Regions from separate parts of the Homo sapiens genome. Here region 1 is linked to region 2. The links are contacts of gene promoters, found by promoter capture Hi-C in blood cells and fetal thymus (Javierre and others, 2016). All regions are on one chromosome and are shown on one strand. The core of a region is centred on a gene start or on the middle of the fragment in contact, and the rest is flanking DNA. Distances in the headings are between cores, read along the strand shown. Region 1 overlaps LAYN (layilin). Region 2 holds the start of PIH1D2 (PIH1 domain containing 2).

Evidence for each region. Contacts are between HindIII fragments. The CHiCAGO score rates a contact against its expected background, and 5 or more counts as called.
Region 1: a contact is called between a fragment that was not itself captured here and the fragment with the promoter of PIH1D2 in region 2, in 1 of 17 cell types (M2 macrophages). The highest score is 7.9, in M2 macrophages.

Annotation. Positions count from the first base shown.
Region 1 is chr11:111,553,574-111,561,100 of GRCh38, forward strand. It overlaps LAYN (layilin), which reads left to right. Exons shown (of 7, transcript NM_178834.5): 4 at 988-1,020; 5 at 1,634-1,717; 6 at 3,968-4,070; 7 at 6,522-7,527. The coding sequence ends at 6,885. Among named protein-coding and RNA genes, the nearest start is that of LAYN, 17 kb to the left of the region's middle. RefSeq lists an enhancer at 640-1,839. The HindIII fragment of the contact is 3,362 bases long and covers 3,621-6,982 here.
Region 2 is chr11:112,072,664-112,079,888 of GRCh38, forward strand. PIH1D2 (PIH1 domain containing 2) reads right to left here and starts at 1,354. Exons shown (of 6, transcript NM_138789.4): 1 at 1,317-1,354; 2 at 335-542. The coding sequence starts at 511. NKAPD1 (NKAP domain containing 1) reads left to right here and starts at 1,636. Exons shown (of 6, transcript NM_018195.4): 1 at 1,636-2,253; 2 at 2,904-2,980; 3 at 5,552-5,652. The coding sequence starts at 2,912. RefSeq lists enhancers at 1,439-1,488, 1,899-2,018, 2,079-2,128. The HindIII fragment of the contact is 10,336 bases long and covers 1-2,330 here.

The sequences.
Region 1 (7,527 bases), core at 4,052-6,551, 520 kb before region 2:
GTGCCTCTGAACTCCAGCCTGGGTGACAGAGCAAGACTCTCTCACATAAAAAAAAAAAAAAACAACACTTAGAACAGTTTCTCTCATATAGTAGACATTGTATAACTGGGTTTTTTTAAATAAATGGATTTACATCACCTATACACACACACACACACACACACACACACACACACACACTTATGGGAAGATGACTAAAAGTTTTTGTCCTTTCTGAGTGAAACTTCAGAATGGGCTTGACATCCTGGCCTTAAGACTGTGATTTTTAAGGTCTTTCCCTTAAAGACCCTGTCCCTACGAACACCAGAGCATCTGATTGGCATAAGAGACTCATTGCCAATACAACAGGTGGACACACTCCCAGTCAAAAGCAAAAACATTTGATGTCAATTATCTGTACAACCTGATATTCTCAAGACACTTTGAAATATGTACAAAAGCTCAGAGCTCTAGATCACCAGCCTCTGCCTTGGTGCTGGCCAGTGGTCTACTGAGCCCCTAAACCACTTTCACTACTTGGAGATCAGTGTTTGTTGCCCTCTAAAACATCCCCATTATGAACTGAAAAAATGTCTTAGACTGCTTTAAAATAATCCAGGCCAGGAGTGCAGGGGAGAGGAGTAGGGATTATTGTTGAAACTAGATGAGCTGTACATTGATAGGAGTTGAAGCTGCATGACGATACACAGGGTACATTATACCAGTTTTTCTACTTTTTTGTATATTTGGAAATTATCATATTTAAACGTTTTTAAATACTTTTTTAAAAACAAAAAAGCACCAAAATAAAGCTGGGGAAGGTTAGTCTTTGTGCAAAAGCAATTATTTTGATTTACTAGCCCAGTTCCTGATATCTGATAACAACAAATAAAGTTTATCGGAGGAATGAATCAGCAAATAAATGGATGCCATGAGGCTGTGGTTGATTTCATTCAGATGCCATAAAAACTTACTACTTATTTTTGTTTTTGTTTCTTTCTACTACAGAGAAACCAGCAGTTCCTTCTAGAGAAGCTGAAGGTAAGCCTGTTACTTGAGATTTGGGTTAACTGGGGCTGTTTCATAGCCCCTCTTCACAGGTTTAAAGCCCTATGTCCTTTGGACTGGATTATTCAACAGAAAAACTAGTGGTATTAACTCAGGCATTTGGGACAGGTATACACCACACCCAGCCATGACAGCTAGTTTAGTCATCTCATTTTCTAGTGTTCTCACAGCTGAAAAGCAACAGTTACAAATTTTGTTTGGGGTGTTACTTGTCATCATTGACAATATCAAAGGAATAATTTAATCTAATGAGACCAAAAAAAATGAGCCAAACTGTTAATTTATGGTCCTAGAAGTGAGTCCTTGGCCCTTCCCCTTGACACCTTGGTATTTTATGTACCTTGATGTCAGCTGCTTCTTGATTGTTTTAGTACTGGATTCTTGACAGCAAGGGTCTCACCAAAAAGACAAAGATAATTTAAACCTCTAGTGCAGCAAATTCAACCCTTTACTTTTCTACGTTTATAGATGGTGCTGGCAAAATTTCTACAGCTTTTTTGCATCCCAATTTGAACATGGTAGGACCTCAAAGAATACCTGAATTATGCCTTTCTTCAAGTTCACAAGTCCATGTGTCTCTCTCCAGGTGAGGAAACAGAGCTGACAACACCTGTACTTCCAGAAGAAACACAGGAAGAAGATGCCAAAAAAACATTTAAAGAAAGTAGAGGTATCTACAAAACTCTCCTGGGAAAGATGAATAATCAGGCTCCCTTGATTACAAATTACCCATGGTTGAATTCCCTACTTTGTTCTTTCCCACAGCTACCTAAAAATAGAACTAGACAGGGCATGTGTGGCTTTGCAAAAGCTGTACTAAATGCTAGGTTTCATCAATGAAATATGCAGATGGAACTATCCTAAGATGACTGGGGAAATCAGACAGCAGGTGAAAAATTTGCATGAAGACAGAGCCTTGGGAGCCACTCAGAGGTCATGTGGGGTAAGGTGGAGTGAGGACTGAGAGAGAAAATGTAGAGAAATAAGAGCAGAAAGACCCAAGCTGTGATGCATAACATCTATGATTAATATTCATCTGCAAAACAAAGAGAAGAAATAGACAAAAACATTTAAAATGTTAAATCATAAAAGGTAAAAGAAAATAGGATGACACATTGGAGTGCTAATGGATTTCAAACTCACTCTTGCCCTGAAGTTCAATAAGGACATCTGAGTTTTTGTCACTGGGCAACTTTTAAAAACCACTTTACTTCTCTGTGCTTCAGTTTAATTGTTTGCATAATGGAAGTAATAATATTTTTCTTGCCTACCTGAGAGCACAACTGTGTCCATAAAATGAAATAGGATATTGCAATAGTGCAGTTCAGTTCTGACACTAAATTCCAGAGTTGGCACACACTCCAGCTCATGAGCACAACTCATACCAAGACTGCCCTCACTTCAGACATTGACTGCAAGTTTAGGGGTCCCCAGGCCACCTGCATTTCTGACCAATTGGCTACAAATCCAGGAGTGCCCATGATCCCCACCTCTTAGGTTTGATAATTCACTAGAACAACCTACAGAACTCAGGAAAATAGTATATTTATGACTAGATTGATTGTATGGGATACAAATCAGGATCAGCCAAATGAAAAGACACACAGCAGGACGTCTGGGAGGAGTTTCCTTGTCATCCCCCACCCCATGGAATCAGGATGCATTAGCATCCTGGCACATCAGTGTGTTCACCAACCAGGAAGCTCCACAGAGCTTTCGTGTCCAGAGGTTTTATTGGGGGTATCAATGCATAGCAGTCTCCAAAAGAGGTCAGGCTGCTATCACTAGGCTCAAAGCCCCAACCCTATCATCACATGGTTGGTCTTTCTGGCATGGCCAGCCCCCGTCTGAATCATCTCCTTATAAACCCTCTTATGGTCTGAGGGGCTCATGAATAACAAATTCACTCCTATTACTGGGGAGAGTCCAAGGATTTAGAGCCTCTCTCCCAGGAACCAGGGACAAAGGCCCATCAGATTCTTTATTATATAACATATATGTGAAAAAAGTACAAAGTGCTCTGCAAAGGTGGGTGGCATTTCTATTGCTCATTGTTATTATGGTGGTATTTAAAGTGGGTTTTGAGGGTTTAGGGGTTTTAGTGGTGGTCAGGTTTGCAATCTCACAGAAGAAAAGCCAACAGCCTCTGGATAGTCAGGAAGCTTGGGTCAGTGGGAGTAGGAAGAGGGTTAGCCTCCAATCCTTGATTCCTCCCAAAGCCACTTGAGGGGAACATCTTTGGTTCTAAGTCTTAAAGGACTAGAAAGTTCAGAAAAGTAAGCCTCTAAGTGCTCTTCACAGTCATGGCTCATGGACCCAACTGAATCTAATTGGTCTTAGAAATGTCAGAAAGGTTTTACACTGTAATTTACTTGCTTCCTGTGACCTCTTTCCTGGTAATGACACTGAAACTTCTGGCTTGCTTCTTTTTCCCTCTCTTTCCCCCATCCCATCGTGGGAACTCCGTGACTGTCCTTGGAGGCAAAAGCATCAACACTGCCCCAGCGGCCCCTGCTTTACTAAGGGAGGACAAGAAAAGAGAGACTCTCTTTTCTCTGAAAAAAAAAACAAAAAGCTTAATTAACAAAAGTGCCCTTCTGATATTTGGAAGACCTAAAAATTTAAACTGATTTTCATTATCACTTAGGGTAATAGGACAGGTAGAAAATGCTCATCCATCGAAACCAGAAGACTCTTTGCTAACTGGCTAGATGTGTCTTGATCACTCAGGAATGAGCTCTTTGGAATACTCTGTGTTGATTAGCCTTTTCCTTTGTTTTGTTTTTTAATTTTTTAATTTTAATAGATTTGGGGGTACAAGTGGTTTTTGACGATTATGCTTTTTTTAAGCCTGGTTTGAAGCACAGAAAAACAAAACAAAAAACAGCCAATGCTGATCATGTGCTTTCTTTCTTTTCAGAAGCTGCCTTGAATCTGGCCTACATCCTAATCCCCAGCATTCCCCTTCTCCTCCTCCTTGTGGTCACCACAGTTGTATGTTGGGTTTGGATCTGTAGAAAAAGGCAAGTAAAACCTTCATTGTGTAAACCTTTGCATCTTCTGCTCTCTTTGAGATTTGGATATTGCCTTGTTTACTTCATTAAAACCCACGGCAGCACCAAGAGTATCACCATTGCAGATTGGAGAGTGGGTTCTCTGACAGGTCAGGGCATTCAGAAGTACTAGGCATTTGTGCTTAGTTGTGATTAAGAGAGTGATCTTACTTGCTTTACTGTCTGTACGTGGAAGATTTTAAAACAACTTGAAGGGTGAAATTGCATTATTCACCTCCCGTGCACTCACACGTCACCCAGCAAAAATGCTCTCATGAATGTATGCCCTCACTCTGAAAATGTTTGTGGACTGAGTGAAGGAATGAATAGTGAGCCATATGAAAAATGACTGCTGCAAAGTATTCTGGTAAACATCTGAAACTAAACCACTTAATTCAAACTGAAAGAGCCAAATTCCTTTTAACTGACTTTTCTTTTAATTCAGTACACAAGTATAGAGTGCTATAAAATAGCTACACTAGGTGGCATCAACAATTTCTGTATATGGTCAGGATCGTGTGCCACTATTTTATTTTATTTTATTTTATTTTTAGTACTGAAAGCTCTTCTCAGTTACCTTTTTATTCTCCATCATCATGGTATATGGAGAAGATGTCTAGTATTCCCATTTACAACAGGAAAACTAAGGCCCAATTTAAGATTTGACTCCCTTTAAAGACCAATTTGAGATGAATTAGTAAGATTCCAATGTAAAATCTATTTCAGTTAATTGTAACTTCCTTGTAGGATTATTATAAGGATTAAGGCAGTTAATACTTGCAGAATAAGTATATACTAAGCACTTGAATGTTACCTATTATTGGGATTATTTTATTAGTTATTTCCTTTGAATCTTAAAGTAGAATTTAGTTCAAAAAATTACAGGCATATTTTCCAGCTGCCTACTCTGCCTACTCAGTTGGTTCTTGATTTCCTTTCCTGACTCTCTGTTTTGTACTTTAACAGGATTTGGGAATTGTGACTCTAAAGCTGGGGTGTCTGTCTATCCCAAGGGTTTTTAATCTTTTTTGTGCCCTGCAGCAGTCTGGTGAGGCCTATGGACTCCTTCCAGAACAATATTTTATTTTATTTATTATTTTATTTAAAAAAATATATATATATATATATATTTGAGACAGAGTCTTTCTCTGTCGCCCAGGCTGGAGTGCAATGGCGCAATCTCGGCTCACTGCAACCTCCGCCTCCCGGGTTCAAGTGATTCTCGTGCCTCAGCCTCCCAAGTAGCCGGGATTACAGGCACATACCACCATGCCTGGCTAATTTTGTATTTTTAGTAGAGATGGGTTTCACCATGTTGGCCAGGCTGGTCTCGAACTCCTGACCTCAGGTGATCCGCCCACCTCAGCTGCCCTAAGTGCTAGGATTACAGGCATGAGCCACCACACCCGGCCCAGTACAATATTTTAAATGCATAAAATAAAATACATTGGGTTGCAAAGGAAGCAATCATACTGTTATATAGTTTAGCAAAATATTTCCAAAAATGAATATGTGATTAGTAATACATGTACTCCTTTATTAATGCTTCTTTATTTAGTGCTGGGTATAATTATTATAATTTTGAAGTAGAGATGAGGTTAAAATATTTCAAGGCATCTATAACTGTGATATGAAAACATCTATAATTTCTAGTAGTGATCAAGTCAAAGATATTAATCCTGCTGTTTTATCTCTTACATTCATAATGGAAGGACATGCTAAATTTCACTTATGGATGAGTCGTGTTTTTTGTTGTTTTGGTTTTATTTTATTTTATTTTATTATTTTATTTTATTTTATTTTATTTTTGAGACAGGGTCTCACTCTGTCGCCCAAGCTGGAGTGCAGCGGTACCATCACAGCTCACTGCGGCCTTGACCTCCCAGGTTATCCTCCCACCTCAGCCTCCCAACTAGCTGGGACTGCAGGTGTGCACCACCATGCCTGGTTAATTTTTGTATCTTTTATAGGGACGGGGTTTTAACATGTTGCCCAGGCTGGTCTCAAACTCCTGGGCTCAAGTGATCCACCTGCCTCAGCCTCCCAAAGTGTTAGGATTACAGGCGTGGGCCACTGTGCACAGCTGAGGTGTTTTTTTGTTTTTTTGGGTTTTTTTTGTAATGTGGTATTTTTTCTCTATTCAGTTCTATCCCTGGACACTCCAGGGACTCTAGGGAACCCCAGGATAATAACCCTGCCCACACTTGGGCAGCAGTGAATGACAGATACACAATCACTTTGAACATAACATCTCCCTGTTTGGTTCCCTCCCACTCCGAAGCCCTGGCCTGTAAGTTACATAGACGAGACATGCAGCTGGGTGACTGCCCAGGGCTGCTTCCTCTCGTCTCAACAGGAAGCACAAGGGTATTCTCAATCACCTGGTCTAAAACACTCAGCCCTGGTTTTCTTTCTTCCTAGAAAACGGGAGCAGCCAGACCCTAGCACAAAGAAGCAACACACCATCTGGCCCTCTCCTCACCAGGGAAACAGCCCGGACCTAGAGGTCTACAATGTCATAAGAAAACAAAGCGAAGCTGACTTAGCTGAGACCCGGCCAGACCTGAAGAATATTTCATTCCGAGTGTGTTCGGGAGAAGCCACTCCCGATGACATGTCTTGTGACTATGACAACATGGCTGTGAACCCATCAGAAAGTGGGTTTGTGACTCTGGTGAGCGTGGAGAGTGGATTTGTGACCAATGACATTTATGAGTTCTCCCCAGACCAAATGGGGAGGAGTAAGGAGTCTGGATGGGTGGAAAATGAAATATATGGTTATTAGGACATATAAAAAACTGAAACTGACAACAATGGAAAAGAAATGATAAGCAAAATCCTCTTATTTTCTATAAGGAAAATACACAGAAGGTCTATGAACAAGCTTAGATCAGGTCCTGTGGATGAGCATGTGGTCCCCACGACCTCCTGTTGGACCCCCACGTTTTGGCTGTATCCTTTATCCCAGCCAGTCATCCAGCTCGACCTTATGAGAAGGTACCTTGCCCAGGTCTGGCACATAGTAGAGTCTCAATAAATGTCACTTGGTTGGTTGTATCTAACTTTTAAGGGACAGAGCTTTACCTGGCAGTGATAAAGATGGGCTGTGGAGCTTGGAAAACCACCTCTGTTTTCCTTGCTCTATACAGCAGCACATATTATCATACAGACAGAAAATCCAGAATCTTTTCAAAGCCCACATATGGTAGCACAGGCTGGCCTGTGCATCGGCAATTCTCATATCTGTTTTTTTCAAAGAATAATAAAATCAAATAAAGAGCAGGAAACAGAGTGTTAGTCTGTGTCTACAGCCCTTCCTCTGCATGTGGCCACAGGGGACCTTTTTTTGTTTCTCCTGACATCCAGACTTGGAAATATCTAACTACTTGCAAAACTAAAAATGAGGCCAGGCGCAGTGGCTGACGCC
Region 2 (7,225 bases), core at 104-2,603:
GACCAGCCTGGCCAACATGGTGAAACCCCGCCTCTACTAATAATACAAAAATTAGCCGGGCATGGTAGTACACACCTGTAATCCCAGCTACTTGGGAGGCTGAGGCAGGAGAATCGCTTAAACCCGGGAGGCAGAGGTTGCAGCGAGCCAAGACCACACCATTGCACTCCAGCCTGGTGACAAAGTAAGACTCTGTCTCAAAAAACAAAACAAAACAAAACAAAACAAAAAAAAAACAAAAAAAATTAGCAATACCTAAGTGTAAAGTATTCTCTGGTTATTCTGGGATCATTTCATTCAAGACCTCCCCATCCCTGGCACCAACTCGACATACCAGAATCCTGGTCTGTAGACAAAGCTGTGGTTCTGGGGCAGCACAGAGCTGTTTCCCTTCTTTCAGCTGCTGCTGAATAAACTTCTCATAGCCCTCAGGGTCACTCTGAGCTAGATCATCTAGGAGGTTCCAAAACTGAGTAACTTGGGTAAGCAGACCTTTTGAGGATGTCTCCATGACTTATGAGTGGTGAATAATTTTCTTAAGCCTGTGGAAAAACACGACTTCAGGAAGAAAACTGTCTGTGTAATTATTGATTCATTTCTGCTTTGGGGAGGTGGAATGGGTCAGGAATTGTTTTGGTGAAGTTAGGACAGCATTTGTGTCTAAAAGGTTGTGGATCAGCACCACTTTATGTTTTCCTTATTCTTTAATTATCTAGTACCTCTTCCTAAATTCTCACATTGTCCTCTCAGATAAGGCCTTACTTCTATTTGGACCCTGACAAGTCAGAGTAATCATTTTAAGTCTGGGTTTCCTGATCTTCTTGTTCCAACACCTGACTGGTGGCTCCCCAGTTCTGAAATTGCCAGAGGTGTGGTGTGGGGTGAGGGCCACATAAGACTTCCTTAATCCTCAGTATAGTTTAGTATTTCAAAGCATGGACTTGTGAGCCAGAATGCCTAGATTCCGGTCTTAGTTCTATCTCTCACTAGCTCTGTGACCTTGAGCAATTAATGTTCTGTTCAAAATGAAGACGATAATACCTCTACCATAGGATTATTGCGAGATTAAGTAAGCTAATAGAGAGGCTGGGACACTTCTCTACGTCTTCAGATAAATCTCCTTAGCCTCTTCTCCCATTGGAGAGGTGTCCCACAGCATCTTTAGAATGAGGAAAAGAGGTTTAGATTCTTCAATTACTGTGTAAGGGTTATGCTAAACGGGAAACTTAACTAACGGATAATCATTCCATAGGTCTGCAAACCCACCTCTTCTCTCAGTTCTAACGGGTAATCATTCTATAGGTTGGCAAACCCACCTCTTCTCTCAGTTCCTTGACAAACCGCGACGCCTGTTACCAGGGTAACCAGCCTGGGTACAACATCTAATTGGGTCCGGGGAACTTCAGGGAGAAAAGTCTCTTCATATCTAGTTCCGGAATGTCCCCCTTCTGGTGCCAGGCTTGCTTTTCAGTTGGGCCTGACCCACTTCTCTTCCAGGAAAGCGCCCGCCTTCCTTCTGCACCCGTCAACCTCTGGAGTGTCCTGAAAACCCTCCCTTGTGGGAGTCTCTGGGCTGCCTGTTGGTGGGACGATTTCTCAGGAGCACGACTTCCGGCCTGAAAAGGAAGTCTCCTCCTTTTTCTCCCAAACCACTTCTTCCCCCCTACCCCCCGCCACGCGAGGCTGCGGCGCACGGTATGGGTGTGTTTGTGTGTATTTGTGTGGGGAGGGCGTTTGGAGGGAAGGTTACCGGGAGCTCCGAGGCCGCTGGGGAACAGGGATCCCGGTGACAAAGATGGGGATATTTCCTCTGTCTTCCACTTGGAAACCTCAACCCCCGCTTCAGGCTCCCTAGATACTTTCTGGGGCCCAACCGAAGGCCGTAGCCATCCAAAGCGTTCCCAGCCTTTCTGGGGAGTGAAACTTACCCCCGGGGTTCGTCCTAGAGGAGCGTGAGCGGGGAATGCCCAGGTCAACCGGGCTGTCCGAATTCCGCCCCGGCTCAGCCTCCGGCCTCAGTCCGGGAGAGAGATCTGCCTGTCGGTCTGGGCTGGGGGAAACGCGGCAGTGGCCTGGGCCACAGGTGAGGGCAGAGTAACCAGTGGGAAGGCTGCGTTTTCACGAAGGACTCGGGTGAAGCTGCAGAGCTGCCTTTGAGCCCTGACTCCTTGGCTTCCTGGGTCGGAGGAGATCTTGTAATGGAGTGGTTCTTCGTCTCACTAGCAAGATGCCTGATTTCCTCAGGATCAAGGGGTGAGTGAGCGTTGGGGTGGTTGCACAAAGCTCCTGCTAGCTACACACGAAAATATTCTTGTCATCTAGTTTTTGGAAGCTTCCGTAGCAAGTAGGAAATAAAATGCCCCCAAATGGAGAAATTTAGGACATCTTTGCATTTGATGTTTTGAGTAATCAGTTTCTGTTACTGTTGACACCCGTGGTTCCTGACACTCTCAAATCTACGTATTTGCTTCAGTGCAAACTATATTGGGATTGGAGGTTTGATTTTTAATTTAGACAGTGACATACATCATTTGCCTGGGACTATGTGGCTTGGGACGTTACAGCTTTAAGGGAACTTCATCTACAAAATAGGGATGGAGATACTTGCCTCATATAAAAAGTAGTTATGAGGATTAAATAAAATGGTGCTCATGAAAGCACTTAATTTTATGTAGTCTTGTGCATTTTCAAAGAACTTTAATGTACATTATCTCCTTTCATCTCACATTAGTGTGTTTAGGCATTTCCCTCTTTTAATGGTAAAGGGAAAACTATTCTTTAGAATCTCTGACTTCTAGTTCAGTGATCTTTCCTGTACCTCATATGCTTCTTTATAAAACTTCAAGAAAAGATAAAGTAATAACAGAAATTATTACTAAACGTTATTTGTTGATTCATTTCAGATTGAAGAATGTCCCGGATTCCACTGGGGAAGGTCCTCCTGAGGAATGTCATCCGGCACACAGATGCTCACAATAAGGTGGGAGGTACAACCTAGTTACTCCTCAACGCTTACTGAAGGCAAGCAGTGTGCCAAGCATTATTTTGGAACAACTGGGAGATACAAAGAATATTCTTGTCATCTAGTTTTTGGAAGCTTCCGTACACAGTAGGAAATAAAATGATGAATAAAATAGATAATTATAATACAGTTTGATAAGTACTGTATAACAGAGATATTTGCAAAGTGCTTTGGAGCACTAAGGAGGAAATAATAAAATCTACACTGGGGAATTAGAAAAGATTTTACAGAATTAGTGGTATTTCAGCTGCTGATCTTTGAACTGGTTCTTGAATAGGTATACGTTTACCAGGTATGAAATATCATTCTGGATAGACAGCATCATGCATTAATATGGCAACGAGAAAGAGCATTAATCACTTGGGGCATGGCAAGAAATTTATCCAGAAAGCAGGGAAGGTAGGGGATAGTGGCAGAAGATAAGGCCTCAGTGGTAATTAGAGTTGGATTGTGATGTTTGGAGCTGAGACTTCTTCCTCTAGGCAATAAAGAAGCCATCAAATGTTTTTAAACAGGGTGTGGCATGATCATAGTTATATTTTAGAAAGATGGTTTGTCAGCTGGGTAGGGAATGAATCAGATGGGGAGATACAGAAGGGAGAGTAATTAGGAGGCAATTGCAGTATTACAGGTGAGAGATGATGAGGGTTCGCATGAAATTAGTGACAGCAGGGATGAAGAAGAGGAATTTAGGAGATAGAATCCAAAGAAGTTGGTGGCTAATTAGATTATAATGATAAGAATGGAATCTAATTCAGTTGACCCTTGAACAATGCAGGGGCTAGGGGCATCAACCCCCTGCATAGTCGAAAATCCATGTATAACTTTTTACTCCCTCAAAATGTAAGTGCCAATAGCCTACTACTGACTGAAAGCCATAGCGATACCATAAACAGTGGATTAACACATATTTTTTATGTTACATGTATTATATACTGTATTCTTATAGTAAAGTAGCTAGAGAAAACAACATTTCATTAAGAAAATCACATTGAGTAGGCTGAGGAGGAAGAAGAGGGACTTGTTTTGCTATCTTACAGGTGGCAGAGGTGGAAGAAAATCTGAGGATAAGTGGACCTGCACAGTTGAGATTCCTGTTGTTCAAGGTCAACTGTGTAACCACCTATGTGACTGGGTAGATGATGACAATTCTGTTAATTGAGATAAAGAACAAAAAATGGGACAATTATGATAGGAAAGGTAATTAGTTTGGTTTTCAACATGTTGATGGTGAGGTGCTTATAGGATGTCCAAGCAGTTGAAAATTCAGACTTGGAGTAGAGGAGAAAAGTTGGGGCTGGACATAAAGGTTTCGGGATTATTGATGTATAGGTTGATGATAAGAGGTCATGAGAGTAGATGAGGTCACCTAGGAGAGCACATATAATGAAAAGAGGGCCAAGGCCCCTGGTTTAGTTTTCTTCAGTAAACTGTACTACTTTTGGTTTGATCATATTATTATTATCATATCACCTGATTTTTAAAATTATGGGCGAGGGTAAAACTGTTACCCGAGCTGCCTATGCAATTATGTTAACCTGCCCCTAGTTATATAGTAAGCTTAGATTTAAAATGGTAGCTAGAAAAAGATAAATCTAGCACAGATCTAATGAAATTATGCAGGAAGACTTAGAAATAAAATGTGTTCTTTGGGTAATCACATTCTGCTTTTCAAGAAATTCCCTAGCAGCCATACTGATTATTTTATTTTATTTTATTTTTGACAAAAATTATAATATTACCAGAAGAGATTTAGCTTAGGGAGTTTAAAGACCTGTCCTTACTAGTTTTTTGACTTTGTTAAAATCTCTGAGCTTTTGTTTCTTTACAGTAAAATGTAATAATGGTAGCTGCTATATTTTCCTCATGAGATTGCTTAAGGTTCAATTGAGATGATATAATTAAAATCATATTGCATTTTGGAAATGTGGCATTATCATTTGCTAATCGCAGCATAATTGCAAGATTGATAAGGTGATGTTTGTCTGTGCAGCGGTTTAAAAATTCTATTGGGGAAGATTTCCACATATTTGAGATTTACTGGATTGGACTGTTCAGCCACTTTCTAGAGAAACCAATTTGTTTTCCAGGTTCCTGATCATAGCCCAGTCTGTAGCCCAATAATTAGTCAGATTGTATTTTCAGTTAGTTGCTTTTTTTTTTTTTTCTTTTTTTGTTGATACAGAGTCTCACTCCATCGCCCAGGCTGGAGTGCAGTGGTGCAATCTCGGCTCACTGCAACCTCTGCCTCCAGGGTTCAAGCGATTCTCCTGCCTCAGCCTCCTGAGTAGCTGGGATTACAGGTGCATGCTACCACGCCCGGCTAATTTTTGTATTTTTATTAGAGACGGGGTTTCACCATGTTGGTCAGGCTGGTGTCAAACTCTTGACCTCATGATCTGCCTGCTTTGGCCTCCCAAAGTGCTGGGATTACAGGTGTGAGCCACTGTGCCCGGCCAGTTAGTTACTTTTCTGTAATGTAAAGTTATTTTTAGTAACTTATTTTTATTTCCTTTTTAAAAATTCTAGATTCAGGAGGAATCAGATATGTGGAAAATAAGAGAACTGGAAAAACAGATGGAAGATGCTTACCGGGGGACCAAAAGGAAAATGCTACCCAGCAGTTCAAGGTGAAGTTGCAGCTCTGAGAACTAAAATAATTCTCATCTTTTTCAGAATCATCAACTTTTGTTTAAAAATACTTTGGTATATTAAGGATAAATTCAGTTCTGTGAGTCCTTAAGCCTTCCTTCTTTCGTAAATCTAGACCCAGGCATAAAGATAATGGCTGTGACGCATATGGCCCTGCTCTTTGTACTTATTTACAATGGAGAGTTAAAAAATTCTACCTGAACAATTATGAATGTGTAGGGTTCTGTGGATTCTAACCTTACCTGATAGCTTTTAACTGAAGATTTTATACTGGAATCTTGTGGTCACTAAGCTGATCAGTCATTCTATTCTCTATTAATCTTTCATTCTTTCAGGCTTTTCTTTTTGTAGCTGGAACTGCAGGTGCATGCCACTATGCCTAGCTACTTTTTTTTTGTAGAGGTGGTGTCTTGCTGTGTTCCCCAGGCTGGTATAGAATCCTGGGCTCACGCAGTCCTCCCACCTCAACCTCCCAGTGTTGGGATTATAAGCATGAGCCACTTGCCTGGCCTCAGACTTTTCTTCACCCTGTCTATTCACCCTCTTCACCAGATCAACAGCCTTTTCACATTACCTTAATAGCTTGAGTGTAAATATGAAGGATTATGCAGGCTTAGTTATCTTCCTTGTGGAGAGGCCTAGGAATGCTTGAATAATTGGGAAGATCCTTACACGCTTGTAAGTGTAAGAGCTACATATATAAGAAATACTTAAACTCTTTAGGAGCAGGGCTTGTGATTTTCTCATTTGCTGCTATATTCCTGCCAGCTAGACCAGTACCTGGTACATAGGAGGCCCTTACAATTTTTTTTTTTTTTTTTTTTTGAGATGGAGTTTCGCTTTTGTTACCCAGGCTGGAGTGCAATGGTGTGGTCTTGGCTCACTGCAACCTCCGCCTCCTGGATTCAGCCAATTCTTCTGCCTCAGCCTCCCAATCAGCTGGGATTACAGGCACCTGCCACCACGCCTGGCTAATTTTTGTATTTTTAGTAGAGACAGGGTTTCACCATGTTGGCCAGGCTGGTCTTGAACTCCTGAGCTCAAAGTGATCCACCCACCTCGGCCTCCCAAAGTGCTGGGATTACAGGCGTGAGCCACTGGACCTGGCCCCTTAAAAATTTTTGATAACCGATTAGCAGCTTACTGGCTAGTTAGTAGAAATGGTAAACAGAAGCTGGATCAGTGGTTCTCAACTTTTTTCCTACTCCAGTATTCCCATGGGTTAGACCTTGTTCCCACTGTTATTGGGACCTCTCTATAGTAAGTTGCTGGTTTGCACAGAGGGAAGTGTATTTCAGAATCTCTAGGGTAGTTTGAAGTGTCCCTTGCTATGATTATGTTCTGCTTCCCTCTTTGCATGCCCTCCTAGTTGAGAATCAGCGAGTGAACTATCACATGACATAGTCCAGAGTTGATTTCATCTCTCTATGCTTTGCAATAGGATGGGTACTAATGGTCAGATTTTTTTCTTTTTTTCTTTTTTTTTTTTCCTGAGACGGAGTCTCACTCTGTTGCCCAGGCTGGAGTACAATGGCATGATCTGGGCTCACT